Linked DNA regions of Homo sapiens: region 1 is linked to region 2. Evidence: promoter capture Hi-C in human tissues and cell types (Jung and others, 2019). All regions are on one chromosome and are shown on one strand. Each heading gives the region's core, a stretch centred on a gene start or on the middle of the fragment in contact. The rest is flanking DNA. Distances are from core to core; before and after follow the strand shown. Region 1 overlaps EFTUD2 (elongation factor Tu GTP binding domain containing 2). Region 2 holds the start of ADAM11 (ADAM metallopeptidase domain 11).

Evidence for each region. The method cuts DNA at HindIII sites, captures the fragments that hold promoters and counts their contacts. A contact is called where the count stands out against the background at its distance.
Region 1: a fragment that was not itself captured here is called in contact with the fragment with the promoter of ADAM11 in region 2 in 2 of the 25 tissues and cell types used here (H1 embryonic stem cells and lymphoblastoid cells).

What each region holds. Positions count from the first base shown.
Region 1 is chr17:44,895,665-44,898,364 of GRCh38, reverse strand. All of the region lies in intron 1 of EFTUD2 (elongation factor Tu GTP binding domain containing 2), which reads left to right. Among named protein-coding and RNA genes, the nearest start is that of EFTUD2, 2.4 kb to the left of the region's middle. The HindIII fragment of the contact is 4,028 bases long and covers 1-2,700 here.
Region 2 is chr17:44,757,667-44,760,366 of GRCh38, reverse strand. It overlaps ADAM11 (ADAM metallopeptidase domain 11), which reads right to left and starts at 1,379. Exons shown (of 27, transcript NM_002390.6): 1 at 1,107-1,379; 2 at 470-645. The coding sequence starts at 1,167. RefSeq lists an enhancer at 1,187-1,738. The HindIII fragment of the contact is 11,776 bases long and covers 1-2,700 here.

The sequences.
Region 1 (2,700 bases), core at 143-2,642, 140 kb before region 2:
ACTCCTGTAGTCCCAACTACTCGGGAGGCTGAGGCAGGAGAATCGCTTGAAACCAGGAGGCGGAGGTTGCAGTGAACTGAGATCGTGCCGTTGTACTCCAGCCTGGGCAACAAGAGCAAAACTCTGTCTCAAAAAATATATATAAAATAAATAAATAATTTCTTCAATCCCTTGACTGGGGTCTTGGGAGAATGAGATAAGCATAAATGCGATAGTAGCTTTTTAGAAGTAAAAAGAATATGCATGTGAAAGTTTCCATAATAATTTACATTTAATTATTGGTCCTTGGAGCTCCAATTCTCTCTCTACATTCAGCACCCAGCAGGTGGCATTGAGGGAGTTGGAGGTATCAGTCTAATCCAAGAAATATCAGCATCTTAAAATTAAACATCCCATTCAGTTAACATTTATCCAGTTCCTACTTATGCAAGGTGCTGTCTTGGCTATTGGCTGTGTTAGCATTGGTACTTTTTTCTCAATTATTTAAAAATGTAAAATGTGGCCGGGTGCGGTGGCTCACACCTGTAATCTCAGCACTTTGGGAGGCCGAGGTGGGCTAATCACCTGAGGTCAAGAGTTCGAGACTGCCTGGCCAACATGGTTGAAACCCCGTCTCTACTAAAAATACAAAAATTAGCCAAGTGTGATGGCGGGTGCCTGTAATCCCAGCTACTTGGGAGGTTGAGGCAGGAGAATCGCTTGAACCTGTGAGGCGGAGGTTGCAGTGAGTCGAGATCGTGCCACTGCACTCCAGCCTAGGCAACAGAGCGGGACTCCGTCTCAAAAAAATAAAAAAATAAAAATGTAAAATGCATTCTTAGCTGGAGGACCATGCAAAAACAGTTGGAGGGGCCAGATTTGGCCACAGGTCAGAGTTTGTCAACTCTTGCTCTAAAGTATTAGGAGGTGAAGAGGCATTGTGTCAGCAGCATACTGTCAAATATTTGGGGAAAAGAAAGTTATTTGTACTGTTCTTGCCACTTTTTGGTATTATTTTAAAATTAAATTTAGTATCATAAAAGAAGTGAAGAGAAGAAGCAGGTGCATGGAACACAGGGTTCTCATGATCAAGGATGGCAAAAAATAATGCTAGCTAACGTTTATTGAGCCTAGGACTCTGGTAAATTCTTTTTTTTTTTTTTTTTTTTTGAGACGGAGTCTCTCTCTGTCACCCAGGCTGGAGTGCAGTGGCGCTGTCTCCGCTCACTGCAAGCTCCGCCTCCTGGGTTCACACCATTCTCCTGCCTCAGCCTCCCCAGTAGCTGGGACTACGGGCGCCCACCACCACACTTGGCTAATTTTTTGTATTTTTAGTAGAGACAGGGTTTCACCGTGTTAGCCAGGATGGTCTCGATCTCCTGACCTCGTGATCCACCCACCTCAGCCTCCCAAAGTGCTGGGATTACAGGCGTGAGCCACTGCACCCAGCTGGACTCTGGTAAATTCTTTACACAGGGTGTTTTATTTAATCCTCATAACCATTTATTCAGTGAGGATTATTCATTCCATTTTCCAGTTGAAGAATAGGAATCAGGTTGGAAGAGATGAAGTAACTTACCTCAAGTTACATAGTTGTTGGTGACAAAGTTGGGATTTGAATCTAAGTCTTCCAACTCCAGAGCCCTGATGCTCTAGTCTGTTATTTATTGCTTATAAACTATAGTTGGTGATGGTAATTAGTAACTACTATTTGTTTATTTATTTTGTTTATTTTTTTCGAGACGGAGTCTCACTCTGTCAGCCAGGCTGAAGTGCAGTGGTGCGATCTCAGCTCACTGCAACCTCTGCCTCCTGGATTCAAGTGATTCTCCTGCCTCAGCCTGCTGAGTAGCTGGGACTACAGGTGTGTGCCACCACACCTGGCTAATTTTTTGTATTTTTAGTAGAGACGGGGTTTCACTGTGTTAGCCAGGATGGTCTCTATCTCCTGACCTCATGATCCGCCCATCTTGGCCTGCCAAAGTGCTGGGATTACAGGCATGAGCCACTGTGCCCAGCCAGTTAACTACTATTTAAGACAAAATTAAATACTGATAAAGGTGCAAAAAGCTCTAGTAGGATAGAGGAATGAGAAATTGAGGAGCTAGGAAAGCTTGAAGGAGGTGGTGGCATTTGAACTGTTTCTTTGAATAGAATTTCAGTAATTGAAGTGGAGAAAACCCACAAAACACTACTTAATTACAAAGGGAAAATGAGTAACTTTACAATGGAGAGGCCTGGCAAACATCACCTTAATGAAGTGATCAAAGTTAACGTTACCACTAATGGGGCAAATTGAAATCATGTATCACCTGATACGAAATGCATTGAGAAGAACACAGCATCACTTCTATGATATTCCTGCCCAAAACGCATAACCTGAATATTATCATAAGGTAACATCAGACAACCTCAAATCAAGGGACATCCTTAAGGATTTCATGACAGTCCTTGGAAGGAAAGACTGAAGATTGTAGATCCAAAGACTGAAGATTGTAGATCCAAAGAGACTAGAGACATGACAACCAAATGCAAACATGATCCTGGATTGGATCCTTAGGTGTGTAAGGTATTATTGGAACAATCTGTGAAACTTGAATGGGATCTGTAAAGAAGGTGGTAGTAATGTGTGAATATCAATTTTCTGATTTTGATGGTTGTATTGTGGTTATGTAGGAGAATGTTCTTGTTTGTAGGAATTACACATGGTGAGGGAGAGGT
Region 2 (2,700 bases), core at 130-2,629:
ACTGTGTGGAAACTGAGGCAGGAGCAAGCACTAAGTTGTTCCAAGAAAGCCCACTAAGGTGGCTGTGGTGAGAACCTGAGAGCCCTAATCCCTGACTGGAATCTGGGCTGCCTCTCCCTGCCCCCAACTTGCCCCATCCAAGCCCTGTTTTGAACAGAACAACTAGCTTTGGCCAGAGCAGAGCAGGGGGCCATTGGAAGGCTGACCCAAAGCAGACCTGAGACCTAGGCATTAGTGGTCCCTGTACACTGAGGGCAGGGGACCCTACAATAATGGAAGGGGGCCCTGGGGCTGGGCAGGCCTGGTGCTCCCCACCAGTGGGCTCCAGCACCCACCGGATAGCCCACTGTACAGAAGGGGACCCTGCGGGGCAGCTGCTGAGGGGGACTCCAACCCTGGTTACCCCGTGGGCTTCCTGGGGCTCTGAGGCCTGCTTCAGCCCCTGGCCTCACCACCCAGCCCCACTCACCGGGCCCCCTGGTGGCTCCTGGCGGACCCTTGTGTCCAGCTGCTGCTTTCGGACCTCTCCCCCGGAGCTCTCCCTAACCAGACGGCTGGGTTCCGTGACCTCAGGGGCTCCTGGGCCTCCCAGCTGGGGTAAGCCCCCCCATCGCAGAGCTCCAGCAGGACCTTGGGTCCCAAGACCTGGGGAAACAAGGCCATGGCTGCAGGCAGCTGCCCACCCTGGGGCAGAAGACTTGGGAATGGGGTGGGCATGCCTCATCCCCCACTCTGGTGTGGCCCCTGGAGCCCTAGGGCGATCCGGGTGGGAGGATCTGGCTGCCCTGCAGAGGCAAGAGCCCGCGGGGAGGGGGCCAGGAGCTTCACTCCCGCCCAACCGTCACGACTGCCCCCCCATCCGCCCAAACCCGCAGAGACCTGCAGAGCTGGCCGGTCGGCGGCAGGGGCAGGGACGCGGTGGGCCCGGCCAGCTGGGGACAGGTGGGTGGACGCACCTTCCCTCCTCTCCCGCTCCCCTACCCTCCCGCGCTCCGGACCGGCTGTCACCCCGAGCACTGCAGGAAAAGGTGGCTGCAGCAGCAAGCGCCGCACATCCCGGGGCGGGGGCAGGGAGGGGGCGCCGGGGCCGGGCGGGGGTCACTCACCGGGCGTGGGGAGCAGCGACAGCAGCAGAGCCGCGAACGCCCAGCGCCGCAGCAGCCTCATGGCTCGCTCATTCCTCCCGGTCCGGGGGCTGCGGCTGCCAGCGGCGCGGGGAGGGCGGGAGCAGGGACGGGGGTGGGGAGGCGCCAGCTGCGGAGCCGGGGCGGGGGCGCGGGGCCGGGCGGGGGTCGCGGAGAGGTGGGGGCGGCAGGGACGGCGCCGGGGCTCAGCGCGCTCCGGCCGCGGCCATCCCGGCGGGGCGGCGGGGCCGGGTTAAGAGCTGAGCAGCGAGCACGTGAGCCCAGGGCCCGCCCTCCGCTCTCCCGCCGCCCCCCGGCCCCCCCAGCCCCGCAGGGCCCGGGCCGCCGCCGCGGCAGGACAAAAGAGGCGCCGCCCCGGGGTCCCTCCTCGCACCTCGAAGTCTCCTCGGCAGGTGCGGGGCGGTGGCGCTCCGCGTACTTATCCCGCGGCCTCTCCTCGGCCACCTCTGCCTGAGCATCTCCGAGGACTCGTAGATTTGTAGGGGAGGGAAGCAGGGGACGGGGTACCCCCGGGGTCGACCCGGCGACTGCCTGTCTGGGGCCCGGGGGCAGGGGCGTGGCTGCGGCGCCCACGTTCGCCCCTCTGTCGTGGTACCCCAGAGAGGCTGCCCCAGCCCCAGCTTGGAGCGCCCCGCTTGACCCCAGGCTGTGGAAGCTGGGGTTGGGGTGGGCAAAGGCTCTTGGCGAACGCCGGGCTCTACGCCTCTGGGATTTCTTGCACCTTCGCTACGGGTCGTGTCACTGCGGAGTCCTCTCACGCCCGCGGTACAGACCCCTTCCCATCGGCTCCTTCTCCCCGCCAAAGATGCCCCGGCCTCCAGGAGGGCTTCAGGGATCGCTGTCACTCCAACCATCAGGAAGGGCTGGCATGTCCGTCTGGGTTCCTGAGTCTCTCACAGGCGTCCTGTCCTTCCTCCTAGATAAAATATAAACTAGCCAGGTCACTTATATGCTGCTAGCATGCCCCATGGCTCCCCCTCCCTTGCTAGTCCCAATCCTTAGGAGCAGAAGACACCTCTGGAGCCCCCCAGCATTCCCTCTCTGGTCAGACTAGGCTGCCCTGTCTGCAAAATACTTGACCTCCCAACCTACATTCCCAGCTGTGCCCTCCACCCAGCTCCTGGGGATGTTGGGTCCCAATACCAGGGCTGGGACCTCAGACTTCTGCTAGGGGTGCTGAAGGCCAGATACCTGAGATGGTGTGGGGTGTGGTAGGGCATGGTGGGTGGGCCGCTGAGTCCCCACCCTGACCTTTTTGGTACCCATGCTAGGGGACCACAGGTTGCTGAAGAACAAGATTGGAGGCAGGAAACCCCTTCCTGGGTCCTCTGCTTCCGCAAGGACCCAGGGCCTCTGCTGGGGATGAGGGAACTGCCTCTAGCTTGTGACACCCCCACCCCCCGCTCTATTTTAGGCCCAGGAGAGGTGAGAAGGCGATTTCCCAGGAGGCGCTGACATCAATGTAGGGAACCAAGTGACTCCCCCCACCCCCAACCACCTGCCATGCCAGGCCCAGATGCTCAGTAAGGCTGAGCCAATTCTTCCTTCGCTCTGG